2 separate regions of the Homo sapiens genome follow, and region 2 is linked to region 1. Evidence: promoter capture Hi-C in 16 types of primary human blood cells and fetal thymus (Javierre and others, 2016). All regions are on one chromosome and are shown on one strand. Each heading gives the region's core, a stretch centred on a gene start or on the middle of the fragment in contact. The rest is flanking DNA. Distances are from core to core; before and after follow the strand shown.

The links. The method cuts DNA at HindIII sites, captures the fragments that hold promoters and counts their contacts. A CHiCAGO score of 5 or more calls a contact.
Region 2: a fragment that was not itself captured here is called in contact with the fragment with the promoter of IFT74 in region 1 in 1 of 17 cell types (total CD8 T cells); the score reaches 5.6 in total CD8 T cells.

Annotation. Positions count from the first base shown.
Region 1 is chr9:26,954,213-26,959,686 of GRCh38, reverse strand. It overlaps IFT74 (intraflagellar transport 74), which reads right to left and starts at 3,275. Exons shown (of 20, transcript NM_025103.4): 1 at 3,171-3,275. It overlaps IFT74-AS1 (IFT74 antisense RNA 1), which reads left to right and starts at 3,380. Exons shown (of 2, transcript NR_121605.1): 1 at 3,380-3,560; 2 at 3,672-3,907. RefSeq lists a silencer at 1,702-1,996 and enhancers at 2,593-3,327, 3,328-4,063. The HindIII fragment of the contact is 1,304 bases long and covers 2,451-3,754 here.
Region 2 is chr9:3,520,583-3,526,056 of GRCh38, reverse strand. It overlaps RFX3 (regulatory factor X3), which reads left to right and starts at 56. Exons shown (of 17, transcript NM_001282116.2): 1 at 56-310. RefSeq lists silencers at 1-91, 522-611 and an enhancer at 299-915. The HindIII fragment of the contact is 1,711 bases long and covers 1,435-3,145 here.

The DNA of each region.
Region 1 (5,474 bases), core at 2,026-4,525:
ACTTCTCTACATCCATCCTGCCCTCCAGTCTCAACAGCCATTCCTTCTCTCATTCAAGATCAATCTTACTCTGATTTACCCTTGATCCCATCTTTTTTGTGGCATTAACCTCACTGCTACCAATTATCTTTAAACTTTCTCCTTTCCTTCAGTCTGTTACCATGTTCAATTCTTTCCTACCTTCAAAAACTTATTTCTTGATCCTGCAACCACCTCTATCTAACTGTCCCATACATCCTTCCCTTATGCAGCCAAATTCCTAAGAATAGCTTATATCCAGCCGGGCGCGGTGGCTCATGCCTGCAATCCCAGCACTTTGGGAGGCCGAGGCGGGCGGATCACGAAGTCAGGAGATCGAGACCATCCTGGCTAACACGGTGAAACCCTGTCTCTACTAAAAAATACAAAAAATTAGCCGGGTGTGGTGGCGAGTGTCTGTAGTCCCAGCCAATCGGGAGGCTGAGGCAGGAGAATGGCGTGAACCCGGAAGGCAGAGCTTGCAGTGAGCTGAGATCGTGCCACTGCACTCCAGCCTGGGCGACAGAGCGAGACTCCGTCTCAAAACAACAACAACAACAACAACAACAACAACAACAAAAAGAATAGCTTATATCCACTATTTTCTACTGCTTCATTTCCCAGTATCTCCTGGATTGCTACCGTTTGATTCAAATGACCCCTGCCAATATTGCCAGTGCTGTAAATGTCATCCTACTTTACTGGTGTCCACATTTATATGAAACATCTCCATGACACTTCCCTCTCTTCTGGTTCTTTTTTCTGTCTCCTTGATCTGTCCTTATATAGAGCATTTTCTAAGATACCATCCACCATCTTTTTCTTTTCTCTCTCTAAACTCCCCTTGGGCCCCCTTATCCACACTCAGGGTTTTAACAATTAATAAACTGATTCCACACAACTTCCTTATTTTAGCACTCAGCTTGCGGTGTTTATATCCAAATAATAACATCTCCACTTAGATGTCTAAATATTTCAAAATAAACATATGTAATCCAAACTCATTATCATCTGCTCAAAATTTGTCCTTCCTCTTGGTGTCACCTCCTAGTCACACAAGTAAGAAATTTAGTCCTTGACATCTTCCTCTCCCTTACTCCCATGGCTGGTCACATAGTTCTACTGAGTTTGTTTTGTTTAGTTCTACTGATTTTGTTCCTAAGTGTTTAACAGGTACTTTACTCTCTATTCCTACAGCACTGGCCAATTCAGGGCATCACTGACTCAGGTGGACTATTATACCAGCCTCTTAAGTGGTCCCCTTGCCTAACACACATTTTGCCTATTACTTTCTCTGGGAATCCTTCCATGACCAGTCCATAACTGGTCTTGGAATCTTCGTCTTCTTCAATTTCAGTGTATAGGCCTGTTCTACATGCTACCATGCATCCTGTGTATTACTTTATTCCAGAACCTATCACACCACTTGAAATGATCTGCTTAAGTATTTCTCACCCTTTATGGCAAGAGCTGAATCTTAATCATCTTTATATCCCCAAAATCTGTCTCAGTGATAAGCAAAAACTTTGTTCTCTCTTGTATCTTTTAAATTTCCTCGTACATAAAGGTATTGCCAATTACAAAAATTTACTAAATTGTTAAAAAGCAAACAAAGCGACCGGGAGCGGTGGCTCACGCCTGTAATCCCAGAACTTTGGGAGGCCGAGGCGGGTGGATCACGAGATCAGGAGATGGAGACCATCCTGGCTAACATAGTGAAACCCTATCTCTACTAAAAATACAAAAAAAAAATTATCCGGGCGTGGTGGCGGGCGTAGTCCCAGGAGGCGGAGCTTGCAGTGAGCCGAGATCGCGCCACTGCACTCCAGCCTGGGCGACTGAGCAAGACTCCGTCTCAAAAAAAAAAAAGGCAAACAAAGCGTGTGTTGGACTAAAATGATTTCTCTGTTTCTACACTCTATGTCCAGTACTACTTTTCTGACTTTTCTTAGCATTACTCGTAATCAGTCCTTGGACTGCTTCTATCCTTTCTACAGTCATGCATCTTTATAACTCCAACTATGTGTACGGCTCACTAATCAATGTCTACAGTTCTGCCCTTTCAACTGGGCACCAATTTTGAGTTTTCAATTGTTTATCTGAAATTTCCATTCAGATATCTCATTTGAATATGTTCACATCAATCTTCCTGACCCCACTAGCTCCCTGATTCTAATTCCTTGCCATTTTGAACTCTATGTACAAAGCAAAAGAATTTCAAATGGAAAAAGGAATTTCATGAAATGACTCTTTGAAAAGGAAGACGGTGTATGATCAAAATGGTTTTTCCAGAAGAAAACGAGTACAATAAACATCTCTTTCCAGTGGAAAAGATATTACTCTAGGTTTCCTGCTAACTTTGAGAAAATGTACAACATAAAAAATTTCACCCAATTTTCTTTGCCACCGTTTTACTGTGGTGAAAAAAAGCTTACCATTATATTATTACCAGTGGGATTAAGAGGCGGGCATTAGCAACAAATATACCACTAACTTCGGGGTTATTCAATCAAAGAGTCACACAATTTCCAATTATTCACACAGAGAGGCAGCCTGGCCTTTGGATCCAGAATGATTAGCGATACAAACTAGTGCTGACAAAGTTAGCGGCTGCATAATCTTGCCACCTTAATTAACCCCTCAGGATTTCATCTTCTGTAAAACAGAAGGGTGACATCTACCTTGCAGGGCTGTTGTGAAGACGATAAGTATTACATTTAAAACATCTGCTTCTAATTATTATTACTATCGTTATCCTCCCTAAGCCAACCATTCTCACACAGGTGAATAAGTGGAAAGTTGCTAACTGCCCGCACTGTGATCAACAGACAGAAATAAGTCCCTTCCACTGTAAGAGGCAGAAATGTATTGCTTTGACTAAAATCCTTCAGCCCATCGCGGTCCTTCCCTCTGCTCTGTGCTTGGCGGGTCTCCTGCGGGGGGTCGGGGAGGGGTCGGGCTGTTGGAGGAGGTCTGTTCGCAACCTTCGCTCGACTAGAATTGGTACATGCCTGGCCTGGCTACAGGCCCGACGGTAACAGTTAGCTAAGACCGAGTTTGAATTTGTTTTGTTTGGAGCGGATCAGCATCTCCAAGGCAAGAGAACAGACGTGGGAGGGAGGGAGGAAGAGATGGGACCCGGGGATTCTCACCTCCGCCGGCGCGGAAGGAGGGCAGTTGCCCGGCTCGCGGGTGCCTTAACTTCTTTCTGAGGCCCACGCTCAGTTTTCCTCGGCTCTCAGGCCTACCCACTAACTGCCGTGCGCCGCGGCGTATCCCGGCAACGGGGGCGGGATAGCGGAGGCTCCTCATCCTGAGTGACCAATCCTCCGCCTCAGCCCTTGGTTACACACGGAGCTCTCGCGAGAATTGAGGATATGTTTGTTTCTTCACCACGCTTCAGTGCTTTTTGGAAAAAGTGGAAAACAGCGGGGCGGCTGGAAGACAAACATTTTATGTGAACGTTTGGTTTTCTTGATAATCAGAGCAACCTCCGTGTGCCTTACTTGAAGTAACTCTAGCGAGTTTTGCTATGTCCCTAGGTAACCTCACGTCGGCTAACGTTGTTAACAGGTTACATTTGAAGTTAAGTGGTAGGCAGCATTGTGCAATTTTCTAAACTCCTAATTTGTGGTAGTTTTCCTTCCTATTAGGACGGCATAGCGTACACAACGCATCATGAAGTATGGATGCGATTCTGGCACCAACTGTTCCGTTCCTGCTTTCACCAGAAGCTTTGCGTCTTTAAGCTTCCTTTCATTAGAATTTGGATCCAAGTTTGTGGGGAAGACTGTGAATTCAATGGAAAGTGTCCTTTTTTTTTTTTTTTTTAATTTAAGAACTACTTCACCTTAAATCCCACTTCTCTAATAAAATAACTTTTACTGTATGTTTCCTTCCAATCTTCATTGATAACAGCTTAAATGTGATTGCATATGTATTGGGATTTTAACATTATTTTACACATTATTTCCAACTTGCCTGCCTTCGAGGAGTTAAAAATCAATACAACACAAAATGAGATAATGTTATGTGGCTGAATTCTCCCTTAGTTTGTGAAACATTTTCATGTAATTATCTCATTTGAGCTCACCCTATTTGCAGTGGCCATTTGTCATCCTTTTGGCAGAGTTTCTCCCTTACCCTGCCCCCCAACACCCTTACAGGAACTGAAAGTGACAGATACTGGCTTTCCTAGTCTTCCTTATTACTGGGACATGAGTATTATTGCTTGCTAGACTCTCCAATCTAATTTGGTGGACTCAACTCAAACTTGAATGACAACCAGAAGCAGGACTTCAGAGAGTCTGTTGAAGTAAGGGTGACAGCCGCAGTAACTACATCGTTTCCGAGACTGCAATGTTCTATCACCAGCAACCAGTGTCCAGCATCAGTGTGTTGTTGCAAGCTGCAGTGTTAGGTACTCAGAGGCTTTATTGGGAGGAGAACCTCTAGCTTGTTTCTTCAGCTTCTGGGAGAGTCTGTGAGCTGCTTAATGTCCTTTAATAAATTCATTTTCAGCTTTTATATCATTTATAGATGATTTCTGTTCCTTGCACTTAAGGACCCTGACAGATATTAACAGTTGAAATTGGCAGGACAGATACTATTATCCAAGTTTTAAAGAGATTAAATAATTTGCTTAAGCTCATTTAGGTAGTAAGTATTGATCCCTGTCCCCATTTCTTTTTCATGATGAAAAAGGAATAGAGAATAGGAATACATCTCACTTATTTGCCTCTGAGCTTCCTTAGAGTAGGCACCATATCTTATTTGACTTTGGATCATTATGTATTAGGTTCTGTTGCTTTTAAGGTTATATCAAATTGGAATTAGGTTATATCAAGTTGTAATTTGGTTAGTAATTAGGTTATGTCAAATTTTAAGTTTATTGTAAGACTACTTGTGTTTCAAGTTCCTTTCTGTCTCTAGTCCTTTTCACTGCAATTCTCTCTTCCTGGAATCTTTGTCCCTCTGCTTTTCACTGTCCAAAGTCCTGTTCATCATTCAGGTCTTAACCCAAATGTCTTTTATTAGAGAGGTCTTCTCTGCCAGTCCATACTAGATTAGTGCTCCAACTCCTTCTGGCCCCCCACCTCATTATATGTCCTCAGTGCACCCTGTACTATTCCTATCTGTTAAAAGGTAAACTTTGGCACATTAAAATTTTAAAGAGCTTATTTGAACAGACAGCAATTCATGAATTAGGCAGCTCCAAATCATAAGTGGTTTGGGGCTCCCCCAGAGGTAGTTGAAAGCTTTCAGAGAGTAAATGCAGAGCACAGCAAAGAAATTATTTGACTGGTTAAAGTTTGAGCAGTTGCCTTATTTGGACTGTTCTTGTGGGAAGTTCAAGACGATATAACTGATGACTAGTTGGCCACTTGTGATTCCGTTTTAAGTTTCAGTTTCCTCATGTAGGAACTCAGTGCATTAGAGCGACTTCAGTCTAATGG
Region 2 (5,474 bases), core at 1,041-3,540, about 23 Mb after region 1:
CAGCGCTGCGCCCTCCCCTTCCGGCGGCTTGGCCGGGCCCGCCTCCTCCCCTCTTCCCTCCCCCACCCCTCCCCGTGCGAGTGTCTCCCTCTCCCTCTCGCTCTCTCTCTCTCTCCCTCTCTCTCTCTCTTTTGTGAGTTATAGCAACCGTTGCCTTGTGAATCAAGCGCCATAGTCACCGTAGTCCTGGCGACTGTTACCCATCAACAACAACTACTCCTCTCCTCCTCCTCCTCCTCTTCCTCCTCCTCCTCCCCACCACCACCATCTCCATCACCCACCAACAACACCACAATAATCCACAGCCAAGGTGAATATTCTTCGGTCTCTACATGTGTGTGGGAGCGTGTGGCTGCGTGTGAACGCGTGTGTCCGTGCGTGTGTGTGTTCGTGTGTGCGAGCCGAGTGTGGCTGTGCTGGGGTCTCACTCCTGACACGGGGGCTGCCGCTGCGGCGCCGCCGCCGAGGGGCTCTGTTCCCCGGGCTTGTTTACAATGGACCCTGCGCGCCGCGGCTGGGTCGGGGGTGTGGGCGCCGCGCCGCCCGCCGGCCCCGGCCCTGCGCCGGCCGCACTTCAGGGATGGAGCGGGAGCTTGGGGGGCTGCGAGCCGAGCGGGAGAGGGAGCCACAGTTTTCCGATGCGGATGCTGGATCTTTCCCTTAGGTCTGGTCTGAGGAGGAGGGTCAGGTGAAGAGATAAGAATTTGTTCTTTCTTTAATTTTCTTCTTTTCCAACGCTGCTGTTTCCTGCTTCTTTCAAAGCCGAAATAGACAACAGTGTGCAAGGGGGGGACCCAAGAGGTGGTGTTTTGTTGTTGTTGTTGTTCACTTGTGGGGCCTTGTTATGGGTTTTGTTATTTTTAATCCTCATACGTTGGTGAACTTTTCCCACCGCCCATTCCCTTCATTTTTGCCCCTCTTTGCCTGGTGCTGAATGGGCTGCTCTTCTTTCACCATCATCAGCTTCATGGTTTTCTTTTTTCTTTTTAAAACTGTATTTTCTTTGTGCGGCAAACAGTCTTAACATCCATTCAGCACTCTTCCCTCCCCCTCTTTCTCCCCCCCCCCACACACCCCTTGCACACATATTGAAACCTGGGGCCTGTTCGTTGGGCCCTCTTTGCTGTACTGGGAAAGATGTTTTTCTTTTTTAAAGTCTGTCTCCTCTCTCTTCTTTGGTGTGTGTGTGTGTGTGTGTGTGTGTGTGTGTGTGTGTGTGTGTGTGTGTGCTTGTGATTTAAACCGGATGCAGGGCATCTGTGATACTTGGGTTAGTAGTTATTGACAGTGCTTTATCCTTCATGTGGAGGTGGGAGGGGGAGTAGTGAGGTTCCGTTTCACTTTGATGATCCTCCTTCCCCGCAGTAGAGTGTTAACAATTTTCATTGTGATTATGAGACTTTGTGATGAACAGGGAAGGGACACAAGGAAGCTTTGTGAGAACTCAGTTCACAGTGTTATTTGTGACAGTTATGGTACTTTAAGAGTTTTTTTTTTTTTAATCTCCTCATTTTCCTTTGAGAGTTGAAATTCAAGTCAAGTTCATAAAGAATGTATGAAGGTTCTCAACTTGAAACGTGTGTATATTTCACTTTCTTTCTGGTTAAGATCTAGGCATGTGTGTACTTAACATATTCTTTTTATTTACTTTTTGATTTTCTTTGGACAGTGACTTGAACCTGCTCAGGAGAGAGAACTTTTTCCTTTTTAAGTATTTCTTTTAAAAATTATTTTTCTCTGTAGATTTGAATACTTATTAGTCCTTATATAGTAGGTTCTTGGTTAACGTTAACCCAGTTTTACAGATCCCCTAAATTTGTTCATTTTTTTCAGCTTAACTTTTAGTTAATAGATTTATCAGTAGAGTTTTGATAATGAATGTGTGCTAAAACAAATATAATGTACTATTGTAGTTGCACATATTGAAGTTTTAAATTTACAGTTTTAAAATGCTTATTCAAATAGTCTTCTTTCTAACAGCAAACATATATTGATTTAACTGACACAGCAGCTTGTGAATAATGTGACAGTACTAATTATTCTTGAGATTGTCAACGAGCAGGGTGGGTAATTATAATGCTATTAAGGCTAATATTTTGTAAAATAAGAGTTGGGATTTTAAAAAAACTTTTTCAATTCATTTCCTTGTGATTGCTATTTTAAATGAAGACGATATTTTGTTCTGAAAGAAGTCTTTCTCAGAGCACTCAGATTTGTTTATAATTATTCCTCCTCTCCCCAAACTGGGTTCCATGCAAATCTCTAATACTAACTTGTATTTTTTTTTCTGTTCAGATGAGTGTCAAATGCCTGAACACTTTTGGATGGTGAAGCTCCTGGGTCCTATAAACTCTCTCTGAAGTTAATAGGAGTTTTGCTGTCTTGGGACAGTTTCAGACCTTATGCCATTTACATAATAGGTTTTCAGTTAAGTAAATTATATACTATAATGTTATGGTTTAATATTTTATTTACAGTGTCTGAGAACTTTTTTTGAGGCATTTCACTCATGTATAGCTCAGGTTTTCTGTGATTTAGATTTTCATTCACAAGTTGATTTGAGAGCAGAACTTAAATTGAATTTCATTACTTTTCCATTTTTTGAAGCATATATGTGGGATAAAATTGCTATTAGAGCTGCTGTGGAATTGATTAAATAATCAGAAACACTGAGAAATGGTAAATTTAAAAATTAAACACAAGGATAGATACTTAGCATTTACTTTATTCTTTCTTAATATTTTTCCTAGAAGGGACTATGTTATGTATTGATACTCTCTTGTGTTTTCAGTTTTTATACTAATAGAAATTTGTAAAAGTGATCATGCTTTGAAACTAAAACTATTAAATAGAAGTCACTTGTAACTTGTTTTGAATAGTCAAATGTCTGTGATTCAATGTATGTCATAATGCCTAACTCAGTCGTTTTGGTGTGTTTTGCCTATGAATTGTATTAAATGGTGTAGGCATCATACATATACACATATATGGCAAACTAATGAATTTCTAGAAGTTTTGCATCGTTTCACAATGTTTTCATTAAAGGTTGTAGTGATGGTTAGTTTTTTTTGTATTATTCCTCCAGTACTCAAATAGTCTTGTACTCTGCTTTGGTACTCAAATAAAAGGTTATAGTTTATAAGCTTACTGTGCTTTAACCTGGAACAGTTTATTTTACCCTAAACAATTTATTATGGTTAATTTTTTTACCATTAACAATAGCAATTAAAAAATGAATGAATCTTAAAGGCAAGTTGGATTTTATGCGTCGTTTAAATGATAATGTATGTTACTTTTTGGTAACATTTTTCATTTCTTGAGAAAGTTGATATTGTGTTGGTATTCTCCAGCTGAAGAAATTAGCAGGCAGAATATAATGATTTTTGGTTTTCAGATTTTAAAGTCTGTGTGTGTGTGTGTGTTTGTGTTTAAATGGGTGGGCATAGCAGCAGATGTGTGGCAAAAGTTACACACACACACACACACACACACACACACACGCACACACACTTTTCCAGAACAGTAATAGGAATATTACTTTGTTCTTAGTATCCATAGTGAGAATGTGTTACAAGAAATGAGAATAGGGAAGAAGTAAACTTTAACATTTTTGAGAGGCTCCTGGTTATTTTGTTTTAATGCTGAACCTTTGGCTAAAAATCCTCTATTTGAGCTCAGTTACCTTAAAAACAGTTTTCATAACTGAGTAATTTGCCTTTAACTCTTTGGTATATATTCCCAGTGGCCATGACAAAGTATGTTTTAAATTCCTCTCTATTCACAGATACATAGTGTTCCCATATTTTGGAAATCCAAGATTAAGTGGATTTGACTAAATCTGGCTTGTTAGGGACAGATGGCTGCTTTAAACAGGTGTCACTTTCATTTTTTACTGCATTGTGTTGGGACTTCCAGTGGTTGACAAAAGGGCTGTCTAAAGCAGGTGGCATCCTTTGCTTTTGTTGTTAGTAAAATCTACTTTTAGAGTTTTCTAGGAAAAGTTTTTTTTTTTTAAAGTAAAAGTTTTGAACTACTCAAGATTCGTAATTTAACATAACTTTTATTTCTGAATATTCTATTTTTAAGTGGTAGAACCTGCAGATTCTTTCACAAAACACTTATCAATTCTTATAAATAATGGTAAATTCCCTTTGAATCCAGAAAAAGTACACAGGAACATTTTACACACCCAAGTCAAACCCCAAGGCCAATTTGAATAAAGTGAAATTTGGTTAACATGACAAGTTAACTTTTGTCATCCTTTACTGAAATAATTTTTTGACAGCATTTTTTATATGTTGGAAATAGGTGTTGTTTTTGTTGGTTAAGTATTTTCAAACTAAGACATTTCCTGACTTCATTTACTGCTATAAAGTTTATAGTGATCTTTTAAAATGATAATATTTTTAAGTATTAATGTTCAAAAATATGTACTGCAGTAAATAAAAAAACTATCAACCTATTGATTTCTAAGGTTCACTTTTACTCTACAATTCTGTCCTTTTCTGTGGGAATTTTATATTTCTTATAACAGATGCACCAGAGGGTGCTGTGCTGTTTGCAACATGAGATTATTATCACTAAGAATGTGAACTCACTAGAACTTTTATTTAAAGAAAAAAATTTTTAATTATATATGCATTGAAGCATATAATAGGCTTATTTTTATGGAGTTTAACATACTATCTTAATTGGCAGTTTTACATCAGAACCTAACTTCGTGTACTAATACATATTACCGCAACATATAACAATATAAAGATTGATATCTTTGGCACTGTCTGGCATTAGTCCTATAGGCATATATGTTGATTATCTTATGTAGATATTTTAATCTTTATTTCAAAACTTAGGTTACCCTGAGAATCATACTATTTGGCGATATGTGGCTTTATACTTCTTAAATTTCATATGATTAGCACATATCAATAATTGTCCATTCTTATAACACTTTTACATGGCATAGTGATATGCTTTTTATTGTATAATCTTTAAAAAAACCACTGGAAAAATAAATGGCAATAGTGGTTATCAGGCTAATTCATAATAAAATAGTATTGACATTATCTAGATAATTCTGGCTGGTTGTATTGGTTCACATTTATAATCCCAACACTTTGGGACTGAGGCAGAAGGATCACCTGAGGCTATGAGTTCAAGAGCAGCCTGGGCAACATAGCAAGATTTCATTTCTGTAAAAAAAAGTAAAAGAAAATTAGCCAGCCTTGCCGGTGCGTGCCTGTAGTTCAAGCTACTCAGGAGACTGAGGTGAGAGAATTTTTTAGCCCAGGAGTTTCAGGTTACAGTGGGCTATGATCATGCCACTGCACTTTAGCCTGGGTGACAGAGCAAGACCCTGTCTCAAAACACCAAAAACAGAAACGAATGCAATCCGTACTTCATGCTGTTGGAATAGGCTAGTTTGATTGTTTAATTTGGCTTATTATCTGAAAACTTTTAGGTTCCCAGCCCTA